Regions from separate parts of the Homo sapiens genome. Here all the other regions are linked to region 1. Evidence: promoter capture Hi-C in 16 types of primary human blood cells and fetal thymus (Javierre and others, 2016). All regions are on one chromosome and are shown on one strand. Each heading gives the region's core, a stretch centred on a gene start or on the middle of the fragment in contact. The rest is flanking DNA. Distances are from core to core; before and after follow the strand shown.

The links. The method cuts DNA at HindIII sites, captures the fragments that hold promoters and counts their contacts. A CHiCAGO score of 5 or more calls a contact.
Region 2: a fragment that was not itself captured here is called in contact with the fragment with the promoter of DRAM1 in region 1 in 2 of 17 cell types (monocytes and total CD8 T cells); the score reaches 8.1 in monocytes.
Region 3: a fragment that was not itself captured here is called in contact with the fragment with the promoter of DRAM1 in region 1 in 1 of 17 cell types (monocytes); the score reaches 5.7 in monocytes.
Region 4: a fragment that was not itself captured here is called in contact with the fragment with the promoter of DRAM1 in region 1 in 1 of 17 cell types (monocytes); the score reaches 5.5 in monocytes.

Annotation. Positions count from the first base shown.
Region 1 is chr12:101,875,631-101,880,481 of GRCh38, forward strand. It overlaps DRAM1 (DNA damage regulated autophagy modulator 1), which reads left to right and starts at 1,950. Exons shown (of 7, transcript NM_018370.3): 1 at 1,950-2,290. The coding sequence starts at 2,160. RefSeq lists enhancers at 1,354-2,136, 1,927-1,976, 2,137-2,918, 2,557-2,646, 2,787-2,836 and silencers at 1,587-1,746, 1,997-2,336. The HindIII fragment of the contact is 18,310 bases long and covers 1-4,851 here.
Region 2 is chr12:101,393,571-101,398,421 of GRCh38, forward strand. ARL1 (ARF like GTPase 1) reads right to left here. Exons shown (of 6, transcript NM_001177.6): 5 at 2,829-3,007; 6 at 1-2,100. The coding sequence ends at 2,070. Among named protein-coding and RNA genes, the nearest start is that of ARL1, 12 kb to the right of the region's middle. The HindIII fragment of the contact is 904 bases long and covers 2,260-3,163 here.
Region 3 is chr12:101,424,397-101,429,247 of GRCh38, forward strand. It overlaps the pseudogene RPS27P23. Among named protein-coding and RNA genes, the nearest start is that of ARL1, 19 kb to the left of the region's middle. The HindIII fragment of the contact is 557 bases long and covers 2,653-3,209 here.
Region 4 is chr12:101,614,630-101,619,480 of GRCh38, forward strand. It overlaps MYBPC1 (myosin binding protein C1), which reads left to right. Exons shown (of 32, transcript NM_002465.4): 3 at 2,573-2,614. It overlaps LOC105369938 (a long non-coding RNA gene), which reads right to left and starts at 1,155. Exons shown (of 5, transcript XR_001749279.2): 1 at 1,074-1,155; 2 at 1-564. The HindIII fragment of the contact is 4,247 bases long and covers 540-4,786 here.

The DNA of each region.
Region 1 (4,851 bases), core at 700-3,199:
CTCAGCAGGACTCTGGTGACTTTGCCTCTTTGTTTCTCTCTCCATTTGCTGCCTCACACTTATTTAAGTGCTTTCATAGTCCCAGGGAAGCAAGCTCTGTGTATGCATTTCCTCCAGTTGTTTTCTGGGCCTGGAATGCTAATCTTATTTTTCTTTGCCTGGTTAGTAATTACTTCCTTTTGAAAACTCTGATGTCATCTGTCAGAAAACCTCCGTGGTCCTTCCTCTGAGCCCAGGCCCCTGGCCCTCAGCTCTGGGCATGTCTCTACTTTTTAAAATCCTCTCCTTTCCATTTAATAAACCACATAACATAATTTTGTTTTTATTTATTTATATTTTTGAGACAGAGTCTCGTTCTCTCACCCAGGCTGAAATGCAGTGGTGTGATCTCAGCTCACTGAGAAAACCTCCATTTCCCAGGTTCAAGCGATTCTCCTGCCTCAGCCTCCTGAGTAGCTGGGATTACAGGCGTGAGCCATGATGCCTGACTAATTTTTTGTATTTTTAGTAGAGATGGGGTTTCACCATGTTGGCCAGGCTGGTCTCGAACTCCTGACCTCAGGTGATCCACCCACCTTGGCCTCCCAAAGTGCTAGGATTACAGGCATGAGCCACCACGCCTGGCCTAATTTTGTTATTTTGATCTATGAGTGTCCTCGTCCTGAGGGTACTATTACTATTTCATCTTTGTAGCCTAGCATGGCGCCCATGAAATGTGTTTGTGGCTGAAAGGAACCTATCTTTGGTCACCAATGACCCAACAATTTTGGCCACATATGTTGGGCTCAGACTCCCTAAACTATCAAAATCATGTGCTTATATTATAAGTGCCTCCAGAACACAAATCCCTTTCACAGGGCTTGAAATGTATCAAGTCACTATTAATCATCTTAGGCCAAGGCTCCGAGTCTGGGCTACTCCAGAACCTGGAGGGGAGTTTTTTTTGTTTTTTTTTTGTTTGTTTGTTTTTTGAGACAAGGTCTTGCTCTGTCACCCAGGCCGAGTGAAGTGGTGTGATAAAGGCTCACTGCAGCCTCGACCCCCAAGGCTCAAGTGATCATCCCAACTCAGTCTCCCGAGTAACTGGAACCGGCTTTTTTTCTTTTTCATTTTTTTTTTTTTTTTTTGTAGAAGAGGGGTTTCGCTATGTTACCCAGGCTGATCTCTAGTTCTTGGGTTCAAGCGATCCTCCCAACTCGGCCTCCCAAAGTGGTGGCATTCCAGGGGTGATGGCTTTTGGATGCCTCCCAAAGTGATGGCTATTCACGGCGCCCGGCCTGGGAAATCTTATTTCCAGGAAATATTCTCCAGTTGCGCTCTCCTGGAAAGCAGCACAATGGGCCTCCCGGCTCCGTGGGCGCGCAGTCCCACCCGCCTGCCCCGCACCCCACCCGCGTACTCTCCACCCCACCCGTTCCCACCCTGTCTGGGTTTTCGGGTGTTCACCATTGAGGTGGGAGCCACATCTGCGCCCCGTGACCTGGCGAACCTCATTGAACACTTCTGCCCGACCCCCGCAGCAGCAGCGCGACCGGATGGCATGGGTGTCACCACGCGGTGGCCACTCTCACTGCTGCGAAGCGCCGGCGGCGGGACCTCGGAGGGGGCGCCCTCGGGGTGCGAGGCCCGGCACTCCGGAAATCCCCCGGGAGGGAGGGGTTGGGAGAAATAAATCCTTTTCTCCAGAGTTGCGCAAGAGCCAGCGCGGTAGGGCCAGAGTGGGAAGGCCAGAGCGGGCGTCCCCGCCAGTGACCCCACGCCGCCCGTCCGCGCCCAACCCGGCCTCCGCCGAGTGTCCAAACCAAAAGCGAAAGGAACCCGACCCCGCGTCCCCTCCGGCGGCTCCGTAGTCGCGTCCGCTTGGAGCTCGCCGGGCGCCTCCGACCCTGCCGGGCCGCTTTGTGACTTCACTCGTTTCGCAACAAGCCCGGGCAGCCCGCGCCCCACCCACTCTGGCCCGGCAGCCTCGCCGCCCGCAGCCTCGCTCCGCTCCTCGCGCTTCCCCTCCCTCCGGGGCTGGGCCTGCCCCGGCCGTCGCGGAGCCTCCCCTCCCACCGTCCGTGAGTGTACGCGCCCGGCCGCCGCCTCCAGGCAGCCCGGAGCAACCCGGCGCCCGGCCCCGCTGGGCGCAGCACTCCGTCGGCGGCGGCGGCGGCGCGATGCTGTGCTTCCTGAGGGGAATGGCTTTCGTCCCCTTCCTCTTGGTGACCTGGTCGTCAGCCGCCTTCATTATCTCCTACGTGGTCGCCGTGCTCTCCGGGCACGTCAACCCCTTCCTCCCGTATATCAGGTGAGTGGCAGGGTGGGCGTCAGGGCCCCAGGAGCAGGCACAGGGACCACAGGGAGCGCTGCCGACGGGGAGGGAAGGCGTCCGGACCCAGCTTGGGGCGTCGTGTGGTCAGGCAGAGGTGGGAGCAGGAGGAGAGGTGCTCCCGATAGCCTGGGATGTTTAGGGAGGCAGCGGGTGCGGCGCTGAGCACTTCTGCCTGTACCCGGAGCATGGAACAGGGTGGCAGCAAGGAGAGGTTCAGGATAGATGGTAGAGCTTTCATTCTGGGTATGGGACAGAATCTCAGCAGGACGTTCTTAGGCGATATTGAAACAAGATGGGTTCTGATAGATGACATATATTATACAAGAGGTAGATCCAGGTATATGCTAAACAGCCACTATTTTCACTTCTGCATCCCAACATCCCTTGAAGTGGATGTTTGGGCTTATTATTCCCGCAAGCGAGCGGTGGTGTAAAGTTGATGAAATATCATCAACGTGACACTGATGTCACACTAGTTAATGGTAGGAGCAGAATTCACACCCGGCCATGCAGAAAGCAACACTGTGCTGCCCCCAGGTCTCTGGGAGTCTGGCTTAAATTCTCTGGAGCTGCACCAGACACCTCTGGGCACTGTGACCCCAAAGTCCTCAACTTGTCAACAACTTGTGACATCTTTTGTGTTATTTTACCCATTCACTTTTCCTGTGCTTTGGCCTCTACCTTCCTGAGGGGCACTTCAGTGCCAGGGACAGTGGTCTGATCCTCCTATGTGGGTTCCAGCTCAGTGCCTTTCTCATAGTGGCAGGATTCTTTAAACGTTAGAACCATCCATCCTTATCTAAGTAGTGTGACCCCTCTGGACAGGCATTGGTTGGTGAACGGATGATAAGGTTGGTGACACCCAAGGTTTGTTACTGCTATGATAGAAAATGTAGGGCGTCTTCTTCCCTGCAGCCATTCTGTCTGGTGAGCAATGTTCTGTGTTTTTTTGTTTGTTTGTTTGTTTTTTTCCTTTTTTTGGGGGTGGGGGTGAGGAGTGTGGAGAAAGGGGAAACAAAGATCGAGCAAGAGGGGACTAGCATTTTTTAAAATTTTTTTTATTTTTTTGAGACAGAGTCTTGTTCTGTCGCCCAGGCTGGAGTGCAGTGACACAATCTCGGCTCACCGCAACCTCTGCCTCCCGGGTTCAAGCGATTCTCCTGCCTCAGCCTCCCAAGTAGCTGAGATTACAGGCGTGCACCACCACACCTGGCTTAATTTTTTTGTATTTTTAGTAGAGACAGGGTTTCACTATGTTGGTCAGGCTGGTCTCAAATTCCTGACCTCAAGTGATCCTCTTGCCTTGGCCTCCCAAAATGCTAGGATTACAGGTGTGAGCCAGTGTTCCCAGGGAACCAGCATTTACAAGATGCAGGGAATACAGCAATAGGTAGAATAGTGCAAATTTGCAGTAATGATGGTGGTTTTTGCCTATGAAAGGAGATGTTATGTATATCAAGATGTTCTCATCTGGCCTTTCGGTTTTTTCCATTTATTGTTATTATTTTTTATTTTCAGTAGAGACAAAGTCTCACTATATTGCCCAGGCTGGTCTTAAACTCCTGGGCTCAAGCATTCCCCTTGCTTTGGCCTCCCAGAGTGTTGGGATTACAGGCGTGAGCCACCACGCCTGGCCCTCCCATCTGGTATTATGCTTGGAAGAAACCTAGGCTTGGTTTCTCATGGCACATCTCAGGCCCAAGTGCCATCATCTTGCTTCTGAAGCAGGATAGATCCTTCTAGACTTGTGTAAAAGTAAAGACCTGCTCAGCTGGGCACAGTGGCTCACGCCTGTAATCCCAGCACTTTGGGAGGCCGAGGCTGGCGGATCATGAGGTCAAGAGATCGAGACCATCCTGGCCAACATGGTAAAACCTCATCTCTACTAAAAATACAGAAATTAGCTGGGCGTGGTGGTGCACGCCTGTAGTCCCAGCTACTCGGGAGGCTGAGGCAGAATTGCTTGAACCCGGGAGGCAGAGGTTGCAGTGAGCCGAGACAGAGCTACTGCACTCCAGCCTGGTGACAGAGCGAGACTCCATCTCAGAAAAAAAAAAAAAAGGTAAAGAGCTGCTCTACCTGCAGTGCTGCTTCTTTTGTTTGTTTGTTTGTTTGTTTTTTCAGACAAAGTCTCGCTCTGTTGCCCAGTCTGTGGTGTGGTGGTGGGATCACAGCTCACTGCAGCCTCGACCTCCTGGGCTCCATTGATCCTCCCACCTCAGCCTCCTGAATAGCTGGGGACTGTAGATAGGCATGCACAACCATGCCCAGCTAATTTTTAATTTTTTTTTGTATTTGTAGAGATGGCATCTTGCTGTGTCCTGCAATGCTTCCTTTTTTTTTTTTTTTTTTTTTTTTTTTAAGACAGAGTCTTGCTCTGTCGCCCAGGCTGGAGTGCAATGGTGCAATCTCGGCTCAGTGCAACCTCCACCTCCTGGTTCAAGCAATTCTCCTGACTCAGCCTCCCAAGTAGCTGGGATTACAGGCACCTGCCACCACGCCCAGCTAATATTTTTGTATTTTTAGTAGAGACGGGG
Region 2 (4,851 bases), core at 1,462-3,961, 480 kb before region 1:
TGCTAGACAAGGACCATATAATTTATAGCTTATTTAAGTGTCCACTTTCTTTATCCCATCCTATTCTTTGTGATAAACCAGAGGGATCAGGCTTAACCAAGTGCTGAACTTTGGGGCAACTTCATGCCCTAGGATTCAAGATGGCCAGCGGCTACATGCCGGGTCTGCCTGCCAGGACCTTACTTCCCATTTTTTGCAGTTTTCCTGGACTGCCGGGAGGCAGCTGTACAAGCTTTATAAGCCTCAGGCTGTAAGTGAACTTGCTTTCTGCATTTTCCAGCCATGTGCCATTGACCAGGAGTGAACTCAAGTATAAATTGCAAAGGGCTACTTGTCAAGATGACAAATATCTATCCTACTGTTTCAACTATGAACATATTCTGAAATGCCATATGCCAGGCGCCATACCAGATACTAGGGACATAAATATGAAAAAGTCTTTGCCCCTCAGGAGTAATATTGGTTGTACTGGAACATTTGTAGCTGAAGGAAAATCTCCAAAAAAGATTTCAAAGAGACTAAAGTAGGAATGGGTGCTGGAGAATGAGCAAGAAGGGTGAGAGTCCCACGGGTGAAGGGAGAAAGCAGCAGAGAATGAATATAAGCCCGGAGAATGAACATAAATGTGAGGGGAAGAGGCCAGAGGCCAACACTGGAAGGACAGTGAGGGCCAAGAAAGGAACTACTAATGTTTCTGAGACCTGCAGGGAACCATGGTATTAAGCTCTCATTACCAGCACCTAATTTTTTAGAGGCTGGTTTTCCAACTTAAGTGAAAGAAATTCACCCTGTTTTTAGCAATTATGACGCACTATATTTACTTCTGTCACATTAGCTGATTCTGTGGTGGACTGGGTAATTTGAAAAGCTCCTTTGAACATGAATTGTTTTTAAACTTACAGTCTAGCAATAAGCCTAATTTTTAAAACAGAATGCTTAATTTCTCCCTGTACAATCAGTAAGATTTTGATTTTTAACAAGTTTACATGTCCAATTACATGTAGATAAAAGGAATGAAAACCAGTAAAGACACCTTTTATAATCTGAAAATAGATTTTTAAACCTTCCTTTAATGTGAAATTTTCTCTTTAATGTGTTATGAATTCTATCAAATATAACCATTTAGGATTATTTATAGTATGTCACTGATCACTTCTACTAGTATAGACAAATAAATTTATAAACATTATTTTGAATGTAACTAATTAGCATAATTTTATTTAAGAGTTAGACTGTGTTGTCAATACTGACATTTTTGGGAATATATAGTATAGTTTATGAGTCAAGCTTCTGAACCAAAAGTTTTACTTTGAGCCCTATTCCTACCTTACAAGCTAGCAGGTGACCTTGGGCAAGCCAACCTATTAGAACCCTGGGTTCACGTCCATACAGTGAAGACATCATAACCTGTCCTACCTACTTCACAAGCTTCCTCTACCGATCAACTAGATCAATATATGTAAGATTTTTTTTGACAACTGTAAAGTACTATAAAATGACACTTACAGATAAGTCAGTGAAGTTAACCATCAAAACAATATTCATGCCTATAACCAAAAGCTTTTAAACAAAACAGCTTAATAAAAAGTGGTCAGGTAAGCAAATAAAGATTATATTACACAAACTATGTTCCTCACCTACTCTCATACTGAGTCTAATCTTTGGAAAGATAATTCATTTTAAGGGGAAAAAAATCTGTTAAGATATTTTTTAGTATTTATACAAACAAGCTGCAACTACTATTCAAAAATAGGTTTTTTTCATCCAATAGGAGTATACTCTTTAATAGAACTGTATTTGAATAAGAATTCCATACAAATAGAATATATACCTTAACACAAGAAAGCAAGAAAAGAATATTTTACATTACATAGAACATTCAGGTGATTCGATCAAATTATCCCTCCAACTAAATACTTATTTTCCCTATTTACTACAAATATTGCAGTCAGTCAGTATATGCCAATAATCATATAGTTTTAACATCTAGTAGTGTGAAGTACACTTGACTGTTTCCAAAGGGAGAGAGGTGATGTAGTCTTCATTTCAGGGGAGAAGAATGGACTGAATTACTGTCTGCTTTTTAATGTTTCAACTAACCTGTAAAGAGAAAATGAACTGTTTTATAAAATTAATTTTCAGGTATAAAGCATGATCATCTATAATAAACTTTGTATTGGAGGTGGATTCCAAAGTACTTAAAATGATGACAGCTAACACAGATGAGGTTATGCACTAGATATCCATAAGGTTCCTCTAAGCTTTGAATTTGTCTATGATTTGAATGAAAAATTCAAAAAAGACCAAATACCTATTTTCCAGGCTACTACTACTTCTGGGCTACATATGGATGACTCAGAGGTGAAACTAGTCTCAATCCTCAAGGAGGTGATTATCTAATGAGTAGATGAACAAATCAAACTTACAAGACAGCAAAACAAGTACTATGTCACTAATCTGTGACAAGGGCATCTAACTTTAAGTGAGTGATTAGGCAGTAGGAATAGAGATACATTAGGAAAAGCTCTTCAGAAGAGAGTCTTAAGCTAATTCCTGAAGGATAAGGAATTGGAGGGTGAGGTGAGGCAGGGAAAAGGCTAAAAATTGGCAAAGAATTTGCTTATCTAAGTAACTGTAATCAGGTAGGTGTGGTTGAGAAGACAGATGCACCTGAAGACCAGTGAGAGAAAACGCTTGAGGAACTTATGAAATAAGCTGCTAAGTAAATCAAAGTTTCATCCTCAACACGGGAGAAAAATTACACGTGGACGTGCATAGCTGCAAGCACACACAAATGCACAGATGGCTTCTGGAAGCATGATACTTGCCATTCCATTGCCTCATCAAGGCCGGTGCCTTTGGTTGCTGACGTTTTGAATATCTGCCATTTTCGGTCCTTCAAGGCAGGTAACCCAAGTGAATTTGCCATCTCTGAGGAAGTCATGGCCTGTTCCATGTCCTGTTTATTTGCAAACACCACTAAAATGGCTTTTCTCAGCTCTTCTTCCTAAATGAAATTGAAAATATTTAATTTCTTTTAACTAATGTGCTCTCTCGAGTTTAGAAAATGTCCAAAAATACATTTTAAACGTGTATTTTATAATTAATATATTACACATTATGAAATTATATAGAAATTATATAGAGAAGTATAAAGAAAAGAAGCTTCACTCATAATCCTACCTCCCAAATATGATCACTGTTAACATTTTAGGTGTTTTCTACTAGTACTTTGTTTTGCAGATACTTCAGAGTTTATTTAGTAAATACATTTACACATTTAAGATCACATTTATATATAGTTCCATACCCTGCCTAAAAATTAAAATCATGTTTCTCCAAACTACAACAACTTTTTCAAAATAAAAAAATGGCTAAATATGCTCTACACTATGGATGCATGCACCATAAACTGTGTTAACTATTTTCTAGTATCTGACTCTTATTAGAGTCTTTCCACTAGACTATTAGATAAACCCAAGTGACAGGGTCTTTATACAAAAATTTCTGTTTAAATCTGTTTCCTTAACACAATATTCTAAAAATGGAGTCAAAGTATGAACAGTTTTTTTCAGGCTTTGATAAACTGAATACATGCATGAACAGCTTTCCAGAAAGGTTACCCTACCAACAGTGTATAAAAGTCTCCATCTTCAATGCAGCCTTTGTAGAGTTGGGAATTATTTACTTTTCCAAACATAGCATCTCATTATATATTACTAGGGTATTCGAAATGCACATGGGCTGAGGCAGGAGGATCGCTTAAGTCCAGGAGTTGGAGACCAGCCTGAGCAACACAGGGGTCTCTACAAAAATTTTTTTAAAAAACAAACAAAAAAGGAAGCAGAGAGAGGAGCTCAAGGTTATAACAAGCTTTGGTTGTGCCACTGCACTCCAGCCTAGGGGACAGAGGGAGACCCTGTCTCTTTTTTTTTTTTCTTTTTTTAAGACAGTGTCTCGCTCTGTTGCTCAGGCTGAAGTTGCAGTCGTGCAATCTTGGCTCACTGCAGCCTCTGCATCCTGGGTTCAAGTGATTCTCCTGCCTCAGCCTCCTGAGTAGCTGGGACTACAGGTGCCCGCTGCCACGCCCAGCTAATTTTTGTATTTTTAGTAGAGATGAGGTTTCACCATGTTGGTCACTCAGACTGGTCTCGAACTCCTGACCTCATGATCCACCCGCCTCGGCCTCCCAAAGTGCTGGGATTACAGGCATAAGCCACCGCGCCCTGCTGACCCTGTCTCTTTAAAAACAAATGCAAATGTTATTAGCAATGTTTTTCCCCTACGAATTGCCTTTTGCTCATTTTGCAAAAGATCTTGCTATGATTCAGATCACTAATCCTTAGTCATTGGCTTCTGGTTAGGCCTGGTTTCTTATCTTAATCTTGTTTATATTTGCCATATCTGAGCTTTGGGGGAGTTTTGTTTACATTAATATAATTAAATCTCATCTTTTGAATTCCTTATATGTTCTTATAATTTTCATTTTTTACATTTAATTATTTACCCATTTAGAATTCATTTTTGTGTATAGGAAAGTTGAAAGGCCAGGCACGGTGGCTCACATCTGTAATCCCAGCACTTTGGGAGGCTGAGGTGGGTGGATCACCAGGTCAGGAGTTCAAGACCAGCCTGACCAACATGGTGAAACCCCGTCTCTACTAAAATTACAAAAATTAGCCGGGTGTGGTGGTGTGCGCTTGCAATCCCAGCTACTCAGGAGGCTGAGGCAGGAGAATTGCTTGAACCTGGCAGGTGGAGGCTGCAGTGAGCCGAGATTGCACCACTGCACTCCAGCCTGGGCAACAATAGTGAAACTCCGTCTCAAAAAAAAAAAAAAAGTTGAAACCT
Region 3 (4,851 bases), core at 1,681-4,180, 450 kb before region 1:
AAGTAAAAAATCCTTTCTGGCAGTGATGACCTACCCACGAGAACATGCCTCTTGCAAAGGATCTCCTTCATCCCTCTTCAGGAGAGAAGAAGAGGAAACACAAGAGGAAACGCCTGGTGCAGAGCCCCAATTCCTACTTCATGGATGTGAAATACCCAGGATGCTATAAAATCACCATGGTCTTTAGCATGCACAAACAGTAGTTTTGTGTTTTGGCTGCTCTACTGTCCACTGCTAGCCCACAAGAGGAAAAGCAAGGCTTACAGAAGGATGTTCCTTTAGGAGAAAGCAGCACTAAAAGCACTCTGAATCAAGATGAGTGGGAAACCATCTCAATAAGCACATTTTGGATTAAAAAAAAAATTAGCCGGGCATGTTGGCACACATCTGTAGTCCCAGCTATTTGGGAGGCTAAGGTGGAAAGAATCACTTGAGCCTGGGAGGTGGCTCATGCCTGTAATTCCAGCACTTTGAGAGGCTGAGGCAGGCGGGTCACTTGAGTCCAGGAATTCAAGACCAGCCTGGGCAACATGGTGAAACCCAGTCTTTATTATTAAAAAAAAAAGTTTCAAAAAATTAAAAATTAAATTATTAGTTACATAATTTTTAGAGGAACTTAAATTACCCAGCTATGCATTAACTGTAATAACTATTTATATAGTTGATCAAATTTTTTAGGCTATAGGACAGCTGTTGTTTCTGAAGTTGAAGTTAGCTAAAATATTTTAAAAAGTGAACACTTGCATGATAAAACATATTACAATAGGACTTGGAAAATGGAGTTAAAAAAAAACTTGGTTACTGGCATTTTTGCTGTTAATGTTGCACTGGCAGGAAAAAGAAATTAGGTGACTTTTGTGATGTAGGGGCCAAAGGAAAGGTTCCTTTTGGCCTTCTGAAGGGTATTGAAAAACCAATCCACAAAAAGGCAGATTAATTGAAGAAAATGCATACAACAACTGGGGACAGTTGGTGCACATCTGTAATCCCAGCAACTCAGAAGGCTCAGGCAGGAGGATTGTTTGAGGCCTGGAGTTGGAGACCAGCCTGGGAAACATAGCAAGACCCAGTCTCTAAAGAATAAAATAAAATAAATGAAAAACAAAAACAGAAAAGACATACGGATTTATTTAACATGTATACACAGAAGCCTTTAGAATGAAGATCCAAAAATACAGGGAAAATTGTCCTTTAATGTTTAGGTTTACAAACTAGAACAGTGGTGTAGAAATGTGATTGGACAAAAAGGTTATGACCTAATGCTAATAGCCTGAGTAGGACACCCAGAAATGCCTGTGTGTCTAGATTCTTTTCAGCCTCTCTGGGTATTTTTTTTTTCTGGTTATGGGGCAGGACCCTCTCTGGAATGGAGGGTCTTAGGATCAATAGTCAAAGAAGATAGCTCAGATAAATTTTTTTGGCCAATTTTTACACAGAAAGATAGAAGGAAAATAAAAGTAATCTTTTTAGGTTTTATGGCTGGCTTTGGGGAAAAAGGGTTCTGATTTCTATGATCTGCCTTGGGAAGAGGGATTCTGGTTTCTATGGCTAGTTTTTGGGGAGAATGAGACTGAAAGAACATCAGGAGAAAGACAAAAAGTTTTGCTTCTGAGGCCTTCATTTTGGGGGTATTGTGTTTTTTTTAAGAGACAGGGTTTCACTCTGTCACCCAGGCTGGAGTGCAGTGGCATGATCTCGGCTCACTGCAGCCTCAGCCTCCCAGGTTCAAACGAACCTCCCACCTCAGCCTCCCAAGTAGCTGAAACTACTACACCACCACATCCAGCTAATTTCTAAATTTTTTTTGTAGAGACGGGGTCTCACTATGTTGCCAGGCTGGTCTCAAACTCCTGGCCTCAAGTGATCCTCCTGCCTCAGCCTTCAAGTAGCTAGGATTACAGGCACATGCCACCATGCCTGGCTATTTTGTTTTTGTTTTTGTAGAGACAGAGTCTTGCTGTGTTACCCAGGCTGATCTTGAACTCCTGGCCTCAAGCAATCGCCCGCCTCAGCCTCCTAAAGTGCTGGATTACAAGCATAAGCGACTATACTCAGCCAGATATTGTTTTCTGAGTCCCAAAAGTGACATAACGATTGTTATAATTAAACATAACTGTGTTAGTTGTAGCTGAGAAAGCAAAGGCTTTGGAACTTTATTTAAAGGCAAACAAAGCCAGGCGTGGTGGTGCATGCCTGTAGTCCCAGCACTTTGGGACGATGAGGCAGGAAGATTACTTGAGCTGGGGAGATTGAGGCTGCACCAGTGAGTGACACCATGTCTCTAAATAAATAAATAAAAGCAAATGAAATATATCTAACCAATCAACAACTTGAAACTGCCCAATCAGTCCTATTGACTTACCAGTGATTAAAATGAACTGTTGGCCTTTTTTTCTTTCTTTCTTTTTTTTTTTTTTTAAGAGACAGGGTCTCCTTCTGTCACCCATGCTGGGATGTATGGCACTATCATAGCTCACTGCAGCTTTGAACTCCAAGGCTCAAGCAATCCTCTTGCCTCAGCCTCCCAAAGAAAATGGATTCTTATGAACAAAAACATCTGATGAACCCTTTCTCCAGTCCTGATTTTCTCTCAAGCTTCTGTTCTGAATCTCCAACTACTTACTAGAGAGTTCTTTATGGGATATTCACTCAAGCTTCATATGTCTAAAACCAAACATACCTTTTTGCTAACTAAAAAGTAAAACAAACACAACTCTAAAAATCTGATTTACTCTCCCAACTTTCTTATTTCTCTGCTCAATGAGCCAAATTCTACCTCTCCTTGCCACCTATGGGTTAATGCAGAGGGCCTTTCTCTGGCCTCACAGTGACCAAATCTTGTTCATTCATCCTTTATCTCCTACTCTCGGACAGTAGCCTATTTTTCCTCACCCTCAAATACCTTTGAATACCACCACTTTGCATCTAATAAAGTCTGTCCTGTACTAGGTACTCAATACATGTTCACAGAATATATCATGTTAATTTCTCTATTAGAAACCTTTAAAACTCATTGCCAAGGATGTTCGTAATTGTTGGTTACTATCTTAATCAGTTTTCTGCTGCTATAATGGAATACCACAGGCTGGGTAATTTATAAAGAAAACAAATTAATTTCTCACAGTTCTGGAGACTGGAAAGTCCAAGAGCTTGGCATTGCCTCTGGCGAGGCCTTTGTGCTGCATCATAACATGGCAGAAGGTTAAGCAAGCTTATGAGAACAAGAGGAGAAATAGAACTGAATTCATCCTTTATCAGGAGCCCACTCCTGAGATAATAGCATTAATCCATTTATGATGGCAGAGCTCTCGTGACTGAATTACCTCTTAAAGAAAGCACCTCTTACGCCTGTAATCCCAGCACTTTGGGAGGCCGAGGCAGGCGGATCACGAGGTCAGGAGATTGAGACCATCCTGGCTAATGCAGTGAAACCCCGTCTCTACTAAAAATACAAAAAAATTAGCCAGGCGTGGTGGCGGGTGCCTGTAGTCCCAGCTACTTGGGAGGCTGAGGCAGGAGAATGGTGTGAACCTGGGAGGCGGAGCTTGCAGTGAGCCGAGATCACACCACTGCACTCCAGCCTGGGTGACAGAGCAAGACTCCATCTCAAAAAAAAAAAAAAAGAGAAAGCACCTCTTTTTTGTTTTGTTTTGTTTTGAGGCAAGGTCTTGCTATGTTGCCAAGGATGGTCTCAAACTCCCGGCCTCAAGTGATCCTCCTGCCTCAGCCTTCCAAAGTGCTGGGATTACAGGCATGAGCCTCTGTGCCCAGCTAACAGCACCTCTTAATACTGTTATAATGGCAATGACACTTTTTTTTTGAGTTGGAGTTTCACTCTGTCACCCAGGCTGGAGTGCAATGGTGTGATCTCAGCTCACTGCAACCTCCTCCTCCCAGATTCAAGCAATTCTCCTGACTCAGCCTCCCAAGTAGCTGGGATTACAGGCGCCCATCACCACACCCAGCTAATTTTTGTATTTTTAGTAGAGACAGGGTTTCACCATATTGGCCAGGCTGGTTTCGAAATCCTGACCCCGTGATCCGCCCACCTCGGCCTCCCAAAGTGTTGGGATTACAGGCGTGAGCCACCGCGCCCGACTGGCAATTACATTTGAACATGAGTTTTGGCAGGAACATTTAAATAATAGCAGTTACTTACTTTTTTAGAAGGCTAACTTTTTAAGGGCAGCGTCTTTCTTATTCTTCTCTGTATCTCCAGTGCTACCACACTGGAGTTCAATAAATGTTTGTTGAATTCATGAAGGATGAGGCTTGAATTTCTTAACTTAGCATTCAGATACTTCCATAATCAGATCCAACTGACTACCTCTCTCCAGTTCAGTCAAACATTGTGGAATCGGGGGGAAACTCACTGTTTCCAGGACTCTGTAGATTTTGCTTCTATAGTGAGGTTTGCCATTACCATTGGGAAAGCCATCCAGCCACTCTGTGGTTCAGATTCCTCTGCAAAATGAAGGATTGGTCAAGAGTGAAACTCCTCAGACTTTAATGTCTACATACAAAGCACCTGGCCGGGCGAGGTGGCTCAAGCCTGTAATCCCAGCACTTTGGGAGGCTGAGGCAGGTAGATCACGAGGTCAGGAGAACGAGACCATCCTGGCTAACAGAGTGAAACCCCGTCTCTACTAAAAATACAAAAATTAGCTGGGCGTGGTGGCGGGCGCCTGTAGTCCCAACTACTCGGGAGGCTGAGGCAGGAGAATGGCGTGAACCTGGAGGTGGAGCTTGCAGTGAGCCGAGATGGTGCCACTGCACTCCAGCCTGGGTGACAGAGCGAGACTGCATCTCTAAAAAAACAAAACAAAAAAACAAACAAAAAAAGCACCAAAG
Region 4 (4,851 bases), core at 1,413-3,912, 260 kb before region 1:
TAACCTAACTCCTACTGAGAAGTTGGATGGTGACCATTGTGATAAGTTGAGAATAATAAAAATAATACACTGTGTTTATATAATCCTCTTGTGTTAATCTAATTTGGATGGCACTTCATATATATTAGGGGGACAATTCTTATGAAACCTTTCAAATTATGTAAAAGTTATTATGTCCGCATTTTACAGTGTGGAGGCTGAGCCTCCATCCAAGGGGCTGAAGAATTTGTGAGGCTTTTTCCTATATAGTGAAGGTCAAACAAACCCACATCTTCTTTATGAGAGTGGGGAGTGGATCCATCTCTACCCTGGAAGATCAGCTGTCCCTTCTCAACTTGACATATGTCACTATTGAGCACCTCCAGAAACTCCCTAGCAGCTATCCAGAAAGGTTTGGTGACCTCTGAGGTTCAACGTGAGGACCAACTTCTTGAGTTCTTAGCACCATATTGTCCACCAGCTGGCAACAGGAAATGAGTACAGAGATCCAGTGAGACCCTTGGCAGGTAGGGCAGTCCCCTATGACACACAATATATGAAGCTTGTTTTTATGTCCACATACACCTAAAGAAGAAAAGAAAATTAAAAGATTAAAAGATTGAAAGCTCAATGTGGCTTAAACTCCCAACATGGCTCTTCAGAGTCATTTATCAGCCAAATAGCCCCAAGATGGAAGCAACCAAAATCATGTGCATTTTCCCATAAAGACTCCAAAGTGGCCTTCCTCATCCCTCTTCCTCCTTGAAAAGGATGAGAAACTGGCATCCCACTCAATAATTATTCACTAGGTATTTACCCTGTGCACAACTCTGACCTAACCCTTCAGAGGGATTCAGACATACCTATCATGTACGTATTGATAGCTAGGTGCAAGCATATTGTACCAGATGTAGTGGGGAACTCTACATAGAAAACATCTCCCTGTATTCAGTTTGTTTGCAGCCAAGTAGAAAATAGAATACAGCCTGGGAAACAATTAAATAAAATGCAGCCAAAACATTAAAACATTAGGCAATATTATAAGAACCCCCCGCCCCCCCCCCGCCCCCCCACACCAAGCAGTATGTGATTACTTGTGAGTTGCTTAAACTGGCAATGTGTTATGAAGCCAGCAGGTGACTGTAGACCTGGTCCAGCTTAGGTGAAAGCAGGAGTTTGGAGAAGGTCTCAGTTTCTAATCATCTTTTCACACAAAAACTTATGAGGCAATTATAAAGCTCTTCCTCTTCCTCCCTGGAGATCGTTTTTCTTTTTTCTTTGTTTTCTTTTTTCTTTTCTTTCTCTTTCTTGAGACAGGGTCTTGCTCTGTTATCCAAGCTGGAGCGCAGTGGCACCATCACAGCTCACCGCAGCCTCAAACTCTTGGGCGCAAGCAGAGATTGTTTTTCAGGAGGGCAGTTTGAGAAATCTAGCTGCTCACAAGAGGCCCTTTGTCCAGCTAAGAATACTAGATTCACACACTCAAACCCTAAACAGTATAGAGAAGTATTACTATGTGTCGAAATGAACGAAAACTGGCTCAGTGCCATATGAGTTCAAACGGGAAAGCTCAGATTTATTTTCTTTAGATCTTGATCTTGAAACTAGTGTAGATGTGTGACATTCTTCTTAGGATCTTCCTGTTCCTTGGTATGTTTTCTCCTTGCCCATAACAAATGTACTTTGACCAACATTGAGTACACTGAGAACCTACTGGCCATTATAAACAAACCTTTCCCTTCTGTTTTTCAGATCAGTTACTGCCACTGAGCCACTATCGTTTCCTTTGTATGTCATATTTCATATTCATTGCACAATATTGACTTCCTGTTGCTCAAATGTCTCCTCCCAAATTCTGCTAAAATTGTCCTTCTTAGTTAACTGAGATTTGAATCTCCATTCATCAGTCCGAAAAAAGAGAATGCATTCTTGAAACAATTCTTTTCTTACTGATTCCATAAGTCAGATACCATTTGCAGGTCTAAACTAATATGATCCCAAACACAGAGAAATGCAAACTAGATGGTCTCAACTGGTAGAATCTGATGTTACTGCTCTTGTTTTGCATTTATTGCCACTAAACCCAATCCAGAAGATTCACATGGACACTGAAACATTTTCTTTGAAGCAACATACACTGCACACAATTACATATTTTGTACTTTACTAGAAAATCTAGAAGTCCAAACTCTTGGAATCATTACATGGGGCAAACTGACTTTTCTTTAAAAAGTCAGTCCCTTGCTGAGGTCTAAAATAAAGTGGCTCACATTTGTTTTGCCTAATTCTACTCCAGCATGTTATATAACATGATCCAAGTATAGTTGAGTGCATTTTAACAAAATCTGTATTGAGTGTTCTTATGTGTACTTTTCCAAAAATGATCAGATTAATTGCTTTTCACTAAAAGTTTAGTGTGGCTCTAAGTTATAATTTCTAAATTCATAATTCATGTACAGCACGAGTATTCAGTATCATTTATGACCTGTTCTGCTGTCATTTATTTCTTCCCTCCCCCTCTCCACCCCGTTGCTCATCACACAATAAAATGCTTTAAGGCACTTTAAAAAATATGCTTGTACTTTCTACACAGAACCAAGTAAAGAGAAGGAGGCCGGAACTACACCAGCAAAAGGTGAGTTGGAGGGAGGGAGAGTGAGGCTGAAGTCAACAAAATTAGAAGCAGAAAGAAGTCAGTAATGATTGTCATGGTGGCTCCATAGAATTTCTCTGCATTATCTTTCGTTCTGCCTTTGCATCTTATCTGCAAGTCCCAATCAGTATAATGACAAATGGTGCATTGCTAAGTTTCCATTACATGTATTTCTAAAAGAAAAACAACAATGATAAAAATATCACAAGCACTTGTTGAGATGCCAGCAAATTAATTGGTAGTTTCCAAGTTTCGACATGCATGCTAAGAAAGAGAGGTGTTTGGTCTTCTTAGGATTATATCAATTGGGAAAATTATCTGAATTACCCGGTTTTTTTTTAAATTAAATGTTTTCATGTTATTGTGTGAACTGTTCCAGGGTTCACTAATAATTTTGAAGGCTAGCATCTCACTTTGTAACACTGACTATGTATTCATGTAGATTTATATAATGATTTCTACAGATACACAATATAACATTAAGAAGACATGTTGCCCCTTCTTGAACTGGAAACTATTCCTGTAATATTATCCTATTTTTACTTTATATGGAGATAGTCTCATTTTAGAAAATAATCTTAATCATATACTTCTGTTACTCCATGAAATGCTAATTCCTTTGTCTCACCATGGAAGAAATGATTATCATTACTGACCATCTGTCTTAAGCTAAGGAGCATTAGTCTTTCATAGAGGGAAGTTTCATGAAGGTGGATTAGACAGCTTTGCTGTATATGTTTGTATTGTCATTTTAAAAGTGAACCTTTTATTTGCATAATGAATAAAAAAGTTTAAATTTTGGAATAACTATTTCCTGACTGCAACAAGAAGTTTCTCTTTTTCCTGGACACTGCTCAAAACCATGTTAAGTATCTCTTTGTTCTTGATGTGTCATATTTCATTATCTAATTTCTATGATATTCTTGTGTCCTATACATTAGTAAAATACTTTTTTCTTTCTTTCAGTAGATTGGATTACTTTCCTTCAGCTAACTTGAACTTATGCTCTCATAATGAACGCATAACGTTAGTATACTCACTTTGTCCTTGACCTTCAGTGGCTCCCATGGAGAGTAACATGAATACTAATCCTGGCCACGTGGGCGCAGTTTGAAGGTTATTTGCTTATGGAATGCAGACAGTGCAAACTCCTAGAACTCCTTCCATGGGATGGTTTCAAGGAGGTTTGGGCATCCTGGCTGAAATTATTGTAATATTATTCTCTACAAGGCCAATGGGCATACACCTCTGTTTCCAAATTTGGAAAGGTGTTTGGGCCAGGCTGCAAGGCTCAACCAACAGAGCAGATGATGTAATCCCAGAGGGCAAGCTGTCAAAGTTTAAACAAAGCCTGTGCCTGACCCTTAATTTGAAAAGTCACCATATTATACTTGTATGCTTAAATGAGAAAATGTCTTTCCTTAAAGTCAACCAACCAACAAAAACTCTTTTATTTATGGAGAACACAGCGTGATGAAAGAGCAAGGCTAGATGACTAGGGCATTTTGAAATTAGTAGCATTTTTCTGACGTTTGCAGAAGATAAGCAAAACCATGACCACATGCAGTTGCATGCCCAGGTACAAAAACTGCCGTGTGTGTGTGTGTGTGTGTGTGTGTGTGTGTGTGTGTGTCTGTATATATATTATATAATGGCAAATACATGTATATATATATGTATTTGCCTTACATACCTAGGAAGCAAATCAATTTGGGATAGAAAGTGACATCCCTAAATAAAGAAGGTAAGTGAATGGAAGTTTATAATAAATATACAGTCCTCTTCATCAAGGACAGAGAAAATACCTATGCAAAAAGTAGACACAATAATTACTGCTACTTGGATATCCCCAGTTGAGAAAGGAGCCCTGCACGAGCATAAACAGGATTGATGGGTGCAACCTACCTTTTCTCCAGCATGAGCTAGAACTCTCCTGCTCTCCCTCCCTCCTCCAACTGTCAGTCTATTTTTTTTTTTTAACCATCCAACTCAGGTTTCACTTCTTTGAACAGCTTTCTCCTGACCATCCTGGCTTACTTTTATCTCCCCTTCTTTCTCCTGATTTCTCTTGGACCTGTTGCCTCCATCATTCAATCACTCTTGTCTCCACATAATCGCACATTAATGGTTGACTCCTTTTCCTAACAGGTTGTAAGCTTTTTGACATTGGCCCCCTCATCTTATTCCCTCCAGCATCTGGCAGAGAGCTGCACATAGCA